Linked DNA regions of Homo sapiens: all the other regions are linked to region 3. Evidence: promoter capture Hi-C in 16 types of primary human blood cells and fetal thymus (Javierre and others, 2016). All regions are on one chromosome and are shown on one strand. Each heading gives the region's core, a stretch centred on a gene start or on the middle of the fragment in contact. The rest is flanking DNA. Distances are from core to core; before and after follow the strand shown.

Region 1 (3,559 bases), core at 775-3,274, 150 kb after region 3:
GACCAGCCTGGCCAACATGGTGAAACCCCATCTCTATTAAAAATACAAAAATTAGCTGGGCATTGTGGCCCACGCCTGTAATCTCAGCTACTTAGGAGGCTGAGGCACAAGAATCTCTTGAACCCAGGAGGTGGAGGTTGCAGTGAGCCGAGATGGCGCCATTGCACACCAGCCTGGGCAACAGGGCAAGACTCTGTCTCAAAAAAAATTAAAAAAAGAAATTTTTTTTAAAAGCCCAGTTTTTTTAATGGACTAAAGATTTGAACAAAACACTTCACAAACGAAGATACACGGTTGGCTAATAAGCCCATGAAAAGATGCTCAACGTCACTAGTCATCAGAGAATGCAAATTAAAACCACAATGAGAAGCTCCTACACTCCTGCTAGAATGCCTAAACTTTTCCAAGACTGACCATGTCAAGTGTTTGTGAGTATGAAAAGGAGCTGAGACTACCATAGGCTGCCGGTAGGGCCATCTTTTTTTTTCTTTTTCCTTTTTTTTCTTTTTTCAGACGGAGTCTCACTCTGTCACACAGTCTGGAGTGCGGTGGTGCAATCTCCGCTCACTGCAACCTCCGCCTCCTGGGTTCAAGTGATTCTCCTGCCTCAGCCTCCCGAGTAGCTGGATTACAGGCACCTGCCACCATGCCTGGCTAATTTTTTGTATTTTTAGTAGAGACGGGGTTTCACTATGTTGGCCAAGCTGGTCTTGAATTCCTGATCTCGTGATCCACCCACCTCGCCTTCCCAAAGTGCTGGGATGACAGGCGTGTGGCGCGATCTTGGCTCACTGCAACCTCCACCTCCTGGGTTCAAGCGATTCTCCTGCCTCAGCCTCCCAAGTAGCTGGGACTACAAGCACATGCCACCATGCTCAGCTAATTTTTGTATCTTAGTAGAGACAAGGTTTCACTACGTAGTTGAAGCTGGTCTTGAACTCCTGATCTCAAATGATCCACCCGCCTTGGCCTCCCAAAGTGCTGGGATTACAGGCATGAGCCACCACACCCAGCCAGGACCATCTTAGAACAGCCTGGCAGTTTCTGAAAAAGTTCAGTTTTTGCAGTAATTTCAGTTCTGAGTATTTACAGGTCTAGGAGATGTGAAAGCATATGTTCACACAATTTATGTGCACAGATGTTCTAGCAACTTTATTTGTAAGAGCCAATATATACTATGCAATTCTACTTATATAAAATTCTAGAAAGATGCAAACTAATCTATGTTTCCCTGGCAATAGGAGTAGGGTAGAAAGAAGGGCAAGGGATTGAGAGGCACCAGGAAACTTTGGGGTAATGGATATGTTCGTTATCTTGATGGTGGTGTCGGTGTCACTGGCCTATACAGCTGTCAGAACTCACCAAATGATGTACTTTAAACATGTGCTTTTCATTGTATGTCAGTTATACCCCAGTAAAGCTTAAAAACAGTTTTATAGAAAAGGAAATGTAAGCACAGCTCAGCTTTGAGTAGCACAGATAGTCAAATAATGTAACTATGGAATTTTAAAATCAAAATATAATTATATTGGGGCAATGGAAAGTATGTGCAATTTGGGTGCGGGGGTTAGGAGAAAATCCTCATCTTCCACAGTGGGAATTCAGTAGATAAAGTCTAAGACTGAAAAAAATTCGGAAGGATCAACATAGGCATATTAGGTTGCAGTGAGCCAAGATCACACTACTGCACTCCAGTCTGGGCAACAAAAGCAAAACTCCATCTCAAAAAAAAAAATATATATATATATATAAATATATATGCCCAGATGAGAGGGCTGGGGGGCAGTCCTCCATAAGATCATGTGCCCAGGAAGAAGTCTTCACGTTTCTAAGTGGAACCCTTTTACGAGCACCAGGCAGCTTTTGCTTTGAGGAGCTCCAGTGGTTAGTCTCTTGGGGATCCGAAGATTGGAACTTAGATGCTTAAAGCCTGCGTGAATTGAAGGATGCCCGCACTTTTTGTATCTCTCTAATAAGAGCCCCTTATGAAGGATAGTTAAGAAAATGTCATGCTTCAAAGATAATCTGCATTGTTTCCTCCTAGCCATGTGAGAAACACAAGCCTGGTGACCTATTAAGTCTCTTTCTCTTCTTCCTTTTCCAGGTGGTCACTTCTTTCATCGAAACTCCTTGTCCCCTCGGAGTCTGGTGTATGAAAGTGAATTCTCCACCATCGAACCTTCTTTGGACATGTATGATGAGAACAAAACCTGAATTTTAAACATGGCCTGGCTGTTGGGGTCACTGCTTTTGTGATTTGATTTCTGATCACCTTTCTTATTTTGTATTCTCCTGTCAGCATCCGTTTTGGAAGAATGGCAGCACTTTCCAAGCACAGGTTGGGGTTCAGGGTTAATTTGCAAAGTTCCCCCAAGGTGAGGCTTTGAGGACAGTAGCATTGCCCAGGTGAGCCTTGTGGTATTGAAAACCCGCCCAAGCTGATCATTGAAGGTGGGCGCCCAGCAAGGCTGGCTGTTTCCAGAGAAGAGGCCGGGCCCAGGATTAATGTTGCATTGCAGACGCATCTCTGAACAATCACATGCTGTTCTGCACCAGGGAAGCTGGGGTTTTTAACATCCTTTTGTGGTCCCTGCTTACGATGCATACTGCCCTGTGGGAGAAGCTTCCTACCCGCGTGGAGTACAGGTGCTGCTCCCTGACCTGGCTCTGGATGTTCCCCTCTCGCTTATTCTACTTCCTGCTGAAGGGCCCCTTCTAAAGGGGGTTGAGAGAAGGCCTTGCCTTTGTATCTCCTCTGAGACTCTGACCACCCACTTCCTGCCAGGGCAGGGCCGTGGGAGACCCAGGCCGTGGGGCCGGGTCTGTGTGCGGGGCCAGGCAGCCGTCTGCGTCGCTGTTTTCCAGCCTCCGTGTTGAGCATGACGTAAAGTGACAAGTGTTTAAGTCAGCACGAAAACACTGAAGGCCCCTCCGTCCCTGCAGCCTGTGAACACGTCTACTCGGCCACCCGTCAGTATAGGGAGTGTGTGTATAGGGAGGTGGCACCTGGGAGCCCAGCCCAGCAGTGTCTCTGGGCACAGTGATTTCAGGGGGATGGCCAGCAGTTGTGAAAGACAGAATGATCTGGAATGTCTCATTGGGAAGACCAAACCCCCTTCTCGCTGCAGATACCAGATAAGCACCCATCTTCACTGTCCACTGTGCAGCCCAGTCCCCTCCAGCAGCCCCAGCACAGCATGAAGAAGGCACATGAGCACCGGCCGACAGGCTTACAGGACAGGGTGCAGTGGCCAGCATCCCAGGCATCAGGGACATGTGGGATCTTCCCACACACCTGGGATGACATCGAATTAACATGATGAGAAAATTGCATCTTACTGCTAATCCCAGTACAGAACCACTATGGGCAAATTTATAAAACTAATCTGCACACCCTCTTTGCAAAAGGACACACCTGAGTTGAGTCTGCCTCTCATTGGCATGAGCTTTGTGGGGGCGTGAGGCGCACAGACCCTTGCTGTGAGAACAGGAACCCCAGTCTCCACATGCCCAGGGTCAGATCCGACAGCAAACGAAGCAGATGCGTGAATCCCCTGCC
Region 2 (3,703 bases), core at 621-3,120, 140 kb before region 3:
TTCCCCACACCTGACCCTTGGTCTCAGATGTCACCCTCCCTAGGGCCAGCCTCTGGCCCTGGCCCTGGCCCCAGCCCTGCTGTCTCCCTGCCTAGCTACCTGGCCCACATTCATTCTAATACATCTGTATGCCCTAGGCAGCTGCCTGCTCTCTCCAGGACTCAGTTTCCCTAACTGTTCAAGAAATGGGCTGGACTGTTGTTCTTAACCTGTCCATTCTTCCAGGAACAGCCTTCACGGAAGCTTGGAACAGCACCTTACTCCATCCTCAAAGCTGACACAGGACTAACTCTGCCTCAGCTCTAGTGAGACGACACCCAGGCCTGCTATTCCTGCTCCCTAGGTCTTTGGAAATGGCCTGAGCTCAGCTCCTCGGAGCCTGTGTGTGGCAGCCGCAGGCTGTCCTTGCAACTATCAGGCAGCTGTGCCCTCTCTGAGGTGTCAACCCAGGGCCATTCTGCCACAGAAAGACTGGGAGATAGGGGAGGCCAGTTTCTATGCACATAGGTTAAGTACCTGGATCTAGCCATTCCTCTAAGCAGTAAACCTTGGCTTTTTATGATCCACAAACCAGCTTTTTGCTCAAGCTGGTTGGGTTGAGTTTTGGGCCACATCTCATCAGGCAGGTCCTGACTAAAGCAGAGTGAGGTGAAGGCAGCTGGAACTTCCGTGTCGGGTGGGGACTTGGAGAACTTTTCTGGCTAGCTAGAGGATTGTAAATGCACCAATCAGCACTCTGTAAAAACGCACCAATCAGCACTCCGTGAAACGGACCAATCAGCAGGACATGGGTGGGGACAAATAAGGGAATAAAAGCTGCCCGCCCACCCCTCGCCAGCCAGCAACAGCGGCGACCGGCTGTGGTCTTTTTCCCTGCTGTGGAAGCTTTGTTCTCTTGCTCTTCACAAGACATTTTGCTGCTACGCACTCTTTGGGTCTGCACCACCTTTTTCTTTTCTTTTCTTTTTTTTTTTTTTTGAGATGGAGTCTTGCTCTGTCGCCCAGGCTACAGTGCAGTGGTGCAATCTCTGCTCACTGCAAGCTCCACCTCCCCGGGTTCACGCCCTTCTCCTGCCTCAGCCTCCCGAATAGCTGGGACCACAAGCGCCCACCACCAAACCTGGCTAATTTTTTTGTATTTTTAGTACAGACAGGGTTTCACCGTCGCACCACCTTTAAGAGCTGTAACACTCACTGCCAAGGTCCCTGGCTCATTCTTGAAGTCAGCCAGACCAGGAACCCAGCGGAAGGGACAAACTGCGGACACAGGAGGACAGGTGTCCTGACCTCTATGCTGGGACCAACCAGGGAACTTTTCACTGAAGACCCAGTTCAAGGAGGCCACTGGATCCTGTTAGAGCCCCTCTCCCTTTCTAAAAGTGAAATCATGCATCGCCATCCTCCCAGAACCCCGGTGTCTTCAAAGTGGTGTCCACCCTCCCTGGGGGCCACGGGAGAGCGCCGAGAAGGTTGGGGAGGGGGGGTGTCCACCCAGGGATGTCCCATTGGGGGACACAGACAACCTAGGTGGCCAGTCCAGAGAACCGGGCCGGGCCCAGTCTTGAGGAGAGAGGGTGAACTGGGTTTTGGGGCGCCAGAGGCCCACCAGGTGAGGTGTAGGCTGGGGCAGCTGGGGCGCAGAGTCCGCCAGGGTCCGCGCGCGGGAGGGCAGCGTCTGACGGCCCGAGCGGGTGGTCCTGGCGCGGGGGGCCAGCCGCCGCGGAGGCCTGAACGCAGGGCGGGACGCTTGGCTCCGCGGCCGGGGCACGGAGGGCCCTGGTGTGCAGCGCCGCCCGCGGGCTCCCGCAGCTCCACCCCCGCGCCCCGCCCGCTCCGCGCTGCCTGAGTGCCACGAGGGGGCGCAGCGCCGCGTTGCTCCGGGGCCGCCGCCAGGCGCTCGTGCGGGCTGCGCTGGGAGCCGGGCGGTCGGGCGGCGGCGGCGGCGGCGGCGGCGGCGGCGGCGGCGGCGGGCGGCGCCCCGGTCCGCGGCGCCGAGGCTCGCACCGGGAGCTGCCCATGGGCCGGGCCCGGAGTTCCGGCGCGCCGGGAGCCGGTGAGTGGTGCGCGGCCGAGGGACACCTGGCGGTGCGGGCAAGGGCGCGGGCTCGCGGGGGCTGGGGAGGGCTGCCGGCGGCGCGGCGGGGTCGGCGGGAGGCGGGAGGCTGCGCGCGGCGCGGGAGCGTGCGCCGGGGTCAGCAGGGGCGGGGTCCGCGCGGCCGCCGGGACTGGAGGCGCGGGGGTAGCGGGTAGGGTACCCTGAGGGCACACCCCCGGCCACCTGGCGGGAGACCCAGCTCTGCCGCGCGCCGCCAGCCCCTGCTGGGCGCGAGGAGCAAGCTTCTTTCAGCCGCTAGAGTGGCAGGAAGAGCCAGCCTAGACCAAAGCCTCCACCCGCACCGGACCTCAGTTTCCCCGTCTATGAAATGGGGACGGGAAAGCAGACCTGCCGGTGCACGTGCAGAAGGGAAAGGGCCTTGCGCCTGGGGGAAGAGGGTGCTGTCACCCTTGAGGATGGGATCGGATTTGAGGAAAGGACCAGCGCCACTATCAGAGGGCCTGCGAGAACAGTGGGGTCTGCTGGGAGTCCTGGGTGTGTCCCTCACGCAGTGACAGCGGACGGCATCAAGGGACCACCTGGTCCACTCATTGTATTTAGATTGGGAAAGCGATGCTTGGGGGGACTTGGGGAAGGGTGCTGGCGACGCCGCCCCATGCTCAGCGTGGGCGTGGGAAACTGTGGGAAAGACAGAGCTGGGAAGTTGGGGTGCTGGTGGAGCTCTTCCGGGCCCGTATCTCCTGCCTCCTGGGGCTGTGGGAGAGACAGAAGTTCTGAGCCCCGGGAGCCTGAGAAGAGTCCTGGGAAGCTCTGCCTGCCAGGCAGGTGGAGTAACTGAGGTTTAGAGAGGGGCGGGACCATGGAGTGGCAACGCTGGGGTCCCACCTCTGGTAAGACTGGCTCCAACAGCCATAGTGCAGCCACTGTGCAGGCGACCGGTGGAGGGGGGCTAGGGTTGTCCACTCACTGGCCACATTCATTGAGCGCCTACTGTGTGCCGCCTGCTGCCTGCCCCCGTAAGTGCTCACTAGCTGGTGTGGGAGGGGACACCAAACAAGAAATCAAAGGCAAAAGCAAGGACATGGCCAAGATCTTATGCGTGCTGGGAAGAACATGCAGTAGGGTGACTGGGGCAGAGGGAGACCAGGGCGCGGCGGAGCCTTCGTCTGGTCAGGGAGGCTGTCCTGAGCGGGGAGCCCAGCCTGTGATGGACGGGTAGCCCGGGGGAACAGCGCGGGTGAGATCCCTGAGGGCAGGAGGGGGCGGAGCTGGAGCTGAGACGCTACAGGGTCTGGACGTCCTGGGCAGCCCCCAGGCGGTTTGCAGGTTGGGCGTCGAAAGGCTGCCCGTGGCGGCGGGTGGGCGCACTGCCGGGGCAGGAGAGGGAGGGCAGGCGAGAGAGGGACGGGCTGCGGAGCCCAGGGCGGGACTGGCGAGGGGGAGCCCGCAGGCCACCAGGTAGAGGTGGGGCCCTGCCCGGGACCTGGCCCTTTTCAGGCCGGGGTCTGCACCCTCCTGCCATGTCCCCGCCAGTCTCTGAGGTGGTTCCAGCTCTCACTTGTACCTGGACCCAGATCCAGAGTCAGCCATTTGTCCAAGGGGCCTTGGTTCCTTGCGTGGGACCCGGGCTTAGTGTGGGGCGTGCAC
Region 3 (3,540 bases), core at 604-3,103:
AGAAATTGTAAAGGATGTCTGCCAAGTCATCAATAGTGGACATCTGTTTTCTTTCTTTTTTCTTTTTCTGAGACGGAGTCTTGCTCTGTCGCCCAGGCTGGAGTGCAGTGGCTCGATCTCTGCTCACTGCAACCTCCGCTTCCCGGGTTCCAACGATTCTCCTGCCTCAGCCTCCCGAGTAGCTGGGACTACAGGCACGCATCACCACGACTAATTTTTTTATTTTTAGTAGAGACGGGGTTTCACCATGTTGGCCAAGCTGGTCTCGAACTCCTGACCTCGTGATCCGCCCACCTAGGCCTCCCAAAGTGCTGCGATTACGGGCGTGAGCCACCGCGCCTGGCCAGTGGTGGGCATCTTAAGTTTTAGCCTGCACTGCATCCGTACCCTTTCCTGGAAACAGTGCCTCAAATTTCTTTTTGGGGAGCCACCTCTTTTCCGGATTTTCAGAACATTTGGTTGTGCAAAGCTGACTCCACCCACTTCCCGCAGTAGGAGACAGGAGACTCAACCCTGGCTGGTCAGAAGACGCCAAACTTTCCCCCTCCGCCTCCCCACAAAGATCCTGTAAGTTCCTGAATTCGGCTGCACTGCCCCATTCTTCCTTTTAGCTGATACTTTATAGCGATGTGTATCTTTTAAACGCCATGGAGAGAGAAAATGAGAGTCGTGTGTGTGTGCGCGCGCGCGCGTTTCGGAAGGTGGAGGGGGGGTTCCCACTGCAACCCTCTGGTCCGGGGGCCCCTGGAGTAGTTCACCTAGTCACTAGAGCAGGGGCTCCCCAACCGCCCGGCCGCGGACCTGTACCGGCCCAGGGCCTTCGAGGAACCAGTAAGCGAGCAGGAGGTGAGTGAGCATCACCGCCTGAGCTCCGCCTCCTGTCAGATCAGGGCGGCATTAGACTCTCATAGCAACGTGAACCCGGCTGTGAACTGCGCATGCTTGGGACCTAGGTTGCCCACTTCTTACGAGAATCTAACGCCTGATGATCTGAGGTGGAGCAGCCTCATCCGGAAACCACTTCAACTCCCTCAGTCCCTGGAAAAACTCTCTTCCTGGAAACCCGTCCCCCAGTGCCAAAATGGTTAGGGACGGCTACCCTAGAGGTCTTTCCCAACCACTCGTGTCCCTGCAGGTCCGGGCCAGAGACATCCCCCATCCATGATGTCAACCGCATGACGTGAATGTTAAATCTCATGACATTTAATTTTAAACATTTCTTTTAAAGTTATGGCTTTTTTTCCTTTGTAGTCTGTTCTCACACATTTCCATACGTCCTCGCAAATCTCCCGGGCTCCACGCCCTGCGGCTATCACGCCTGACAGAGAAACAACCAGCACCAGCGGCTGACCCGGCTGCCCGGGCCCTCGTGCAGGCGGGCGGGAGCGGACAGGCCCTGGCACGCATGCGCTCGGGGCGGGACTGCGCCTTAGGCCTGCGCGTTGCCGCTAGACCAGCGGGGGGGCGGGGCGGCGGCGGACACGCGCCTCAGGCGGCAGCCGCGCGAGAGGGACTTTGTGTTCCGCTGACCCTCCTCGGGGCGCTTCCTCCCGTGCCGCCCTTCCCCTCCCCCGCCGCGTCCTTGCGAGGCGCCTCCCATTCGGTGGGACCGACCCGGGGGGATGGAGGGGGCACGCTTCTACAACCCTCCTGGGACCCCGAAGAGACGCCCGCGTGCGACCTGAGACGCCGCCCTCGCCGAGGGCCCATGGGCGCGTCCCCACAGGCGGGCAGTGGACGTGAGGGCGGCGAGCGGCGGGGCCGCGGCGTCCAGGAGGGCCGCGCTCGGGCTCGGCCCCGCGCAGGCCGCGCGCGCGCGCTCCCGCCGCCGCCCGGGCCGCGCCCGCCCCGCCTCTAGGCGCCGGCCCCGGAGCCCGGTCCGCGAGCAGCGGCGGCTGCCGGAGGGACGATGAGCTGCGCGGGGCGGGCGGGCCCTGCCCGGCTCGCCGCGCTCGCCCTGCTGACCTGCAGCCTGTGGCCGGCACGGGCAGACAACGCGAGCCAGGAGTACTACACGGCGCTCATCAACGTGACGGTGCAGGAGCCCGGCCGCGGCGCCCCGCTCACGTTTCGCATCGACCGCGGGCGCTACGGGCTTGACTCCCCCAAGGCCGAGGTCCGCGGCCAGGTGCTGGCGCCGCTGCCCCTCCACGGAGGTGAGTGCCGGCCCGGGGGCGGCGGGCGGTGGTCGCTGCATCCCGCGTAGGCGGCGGGACTAGGGTTCCCGGCCCCGGCTCTGGCCCTGGCTCTCCCGCGCTGCCCGGCCGACAGCCCCAGCCAGGGTCGAGGCTTCCGTCGTGGACAGCCCGGCCTGCTCCCGTGGGAACCAGGCTCCAGGAGCGTGACTGGGTTTTTCCCTTCTTTTAAAAAAGACTTGGAACGGTCATCTTTGCGTTCAGGCAGCTCGTTTGCTGGAGGGCATTGAGCTAGGAGTTTGCAGGGACAGCGTAGACAAAGGAGGTGGTGCAAGAGCGCAAAACTACTTCATGGGGAGGACGTCTCAGCCTGTATTTTGGAAGCGGCAGGTTCCTCAAATCACGGACTTAAGGCTGCGCTAGATCTGGAAGGATGCGGCCCTTTTCTAATATAAAAACGTGCCGTTTTTCTTAAGTGGTAAATTGGGGGGGGGGTGTAAATGGAAAATGGACATCTTCCCTGTTGCTTTTGGCTCTTGTTCTTGCCCTAGTAGTTTTACTGTAATTTGACGCCTGAAAATGTCACATTATGAGGATCTGACACTAATCGGAACTACTAGCCAAGGCTTTTCAGGTCACGGGTGCCGACCAAAAGGGAAATAGGTAAAATTTTCAAGAATTGTCTTTGAAACCATTCGGCTTAATGTCATGTTTTCCTATGAACAAGGACTTTGTTTAGTTGATTATTTGGTGTAAACATGTATTTGTTTAAATTATTAGTCATGGTTTGAAAGAAACCTTTTGCACATCGTGGAATATGATTTTTTGGGTTTTGGCCCACGCTGAACTTTTGGGAGATATCTGCCATTATCCCCACCCTCATTGTCACCCTGAGAATGCTGAGAGGGGATTTTTCTTTTCTAAACTGCTGTTCATGTTAGGATGACCTAAAGTAGGCAACCTAAATAAAGTCATGATTTGCTTGTACACTCTTAAGATACTAACATATTATGCCCCTCTGAGGTCTGTATTTGTATGCCAAAGTGCTAAGCTGTTTTCTTCTTTGAGACAGTCTGGCTGGGGAAAAATAATCACATAAGGCTTTTACTGTAGCCTGTCCGCAACTCAGACTAGGCTTTGAAAAGTCCGTTTTACACCAGTAATCAGGTGCTTAAGGTGCATATCTCATCTCTACTGTGTTAAAAATGGCAGTTAGGGTCCCAGCTTGGCCGTAGAAACAACTTTTGTCTTGGGTTCATTCAGTAAATATTTGCGTTCCTGCTCTGTGCCAGTCACTGTGGTTGAGATGCACAGTGTTGCCAGACTGGCAACTAACAATGGTAGCCTCTTTTCTGGTGGAGAGAACCGTGAGGGTCACGTGGAAGGGTAGAAAGAGGAAGGGGAG

Evidence for each region. Contacts are between HindIII fragments. The CHiCAGO score rates a contact against its expected background, and 5 or more counts as called.
Region 1: a contact is called between a fragment that was not itself captured here and the fragment with the promoter of RNF130 in region 3, in 3 of 17 cell types (M1 macrophages, M2 macrophages and M0 macrophages). The highest score is 7.9, in M1 macrophages.
Region 2: the fragment with the promoter of RASGEF1C here is called in contact with the fragment with the promoter of RNF130 in region 3 in 8 of 17 cell types (M0 macrophages, monocytes, M1 macrophages and 5 more); the score reaches 11.7 in M0 macrophages.

What each region holds. Positions count from the first base shown.
Region 1 is chr5:179,918,972-179,922,530 of GRCh38, reverse strand. It overlaps a transcript of RNF130 not described here. Among named protein-coding and RNA genes, the nearest start is that of TBC1D9B, 13 kb to the right of the region's middle. The HindIII fragment of the contact is 1,203 bases long and covers 1,423-2,625 here.
Region 2 is chr5:180,207,378-180,211,080 of GRCh38, reverse strand. It overlaps RASGEF1C (RasGEF domain family member 1C), which reads left to right and starts at 1,870. Exons shown (of 14, transcript NM_175062.4): 1 at 1,870-2,053. RefSeq lists a silencer at 1,735-1,954 and an enhancer at 3,079-3,703. The HindIII fragment of the contact is 1,452 bases long and covers 888-2,339 here.
Region 3 is chr5:180,070,072-180,073,611 of GRCh38, reverse strand. It overlaps RNF130 (ring finger protein 130), which reads left to right and starts at 1,853. Exons shown (of 9, transcript NM_018434.6): 1 at 1,853-2,156. The coding sequence starts at 1,910. RefSeq lists a silencer at 1,503-1,582 and an enhancer at 1,472-2,179. The HindIII fragment of the contact is 6,319 bases long and covers 1-3,540 here.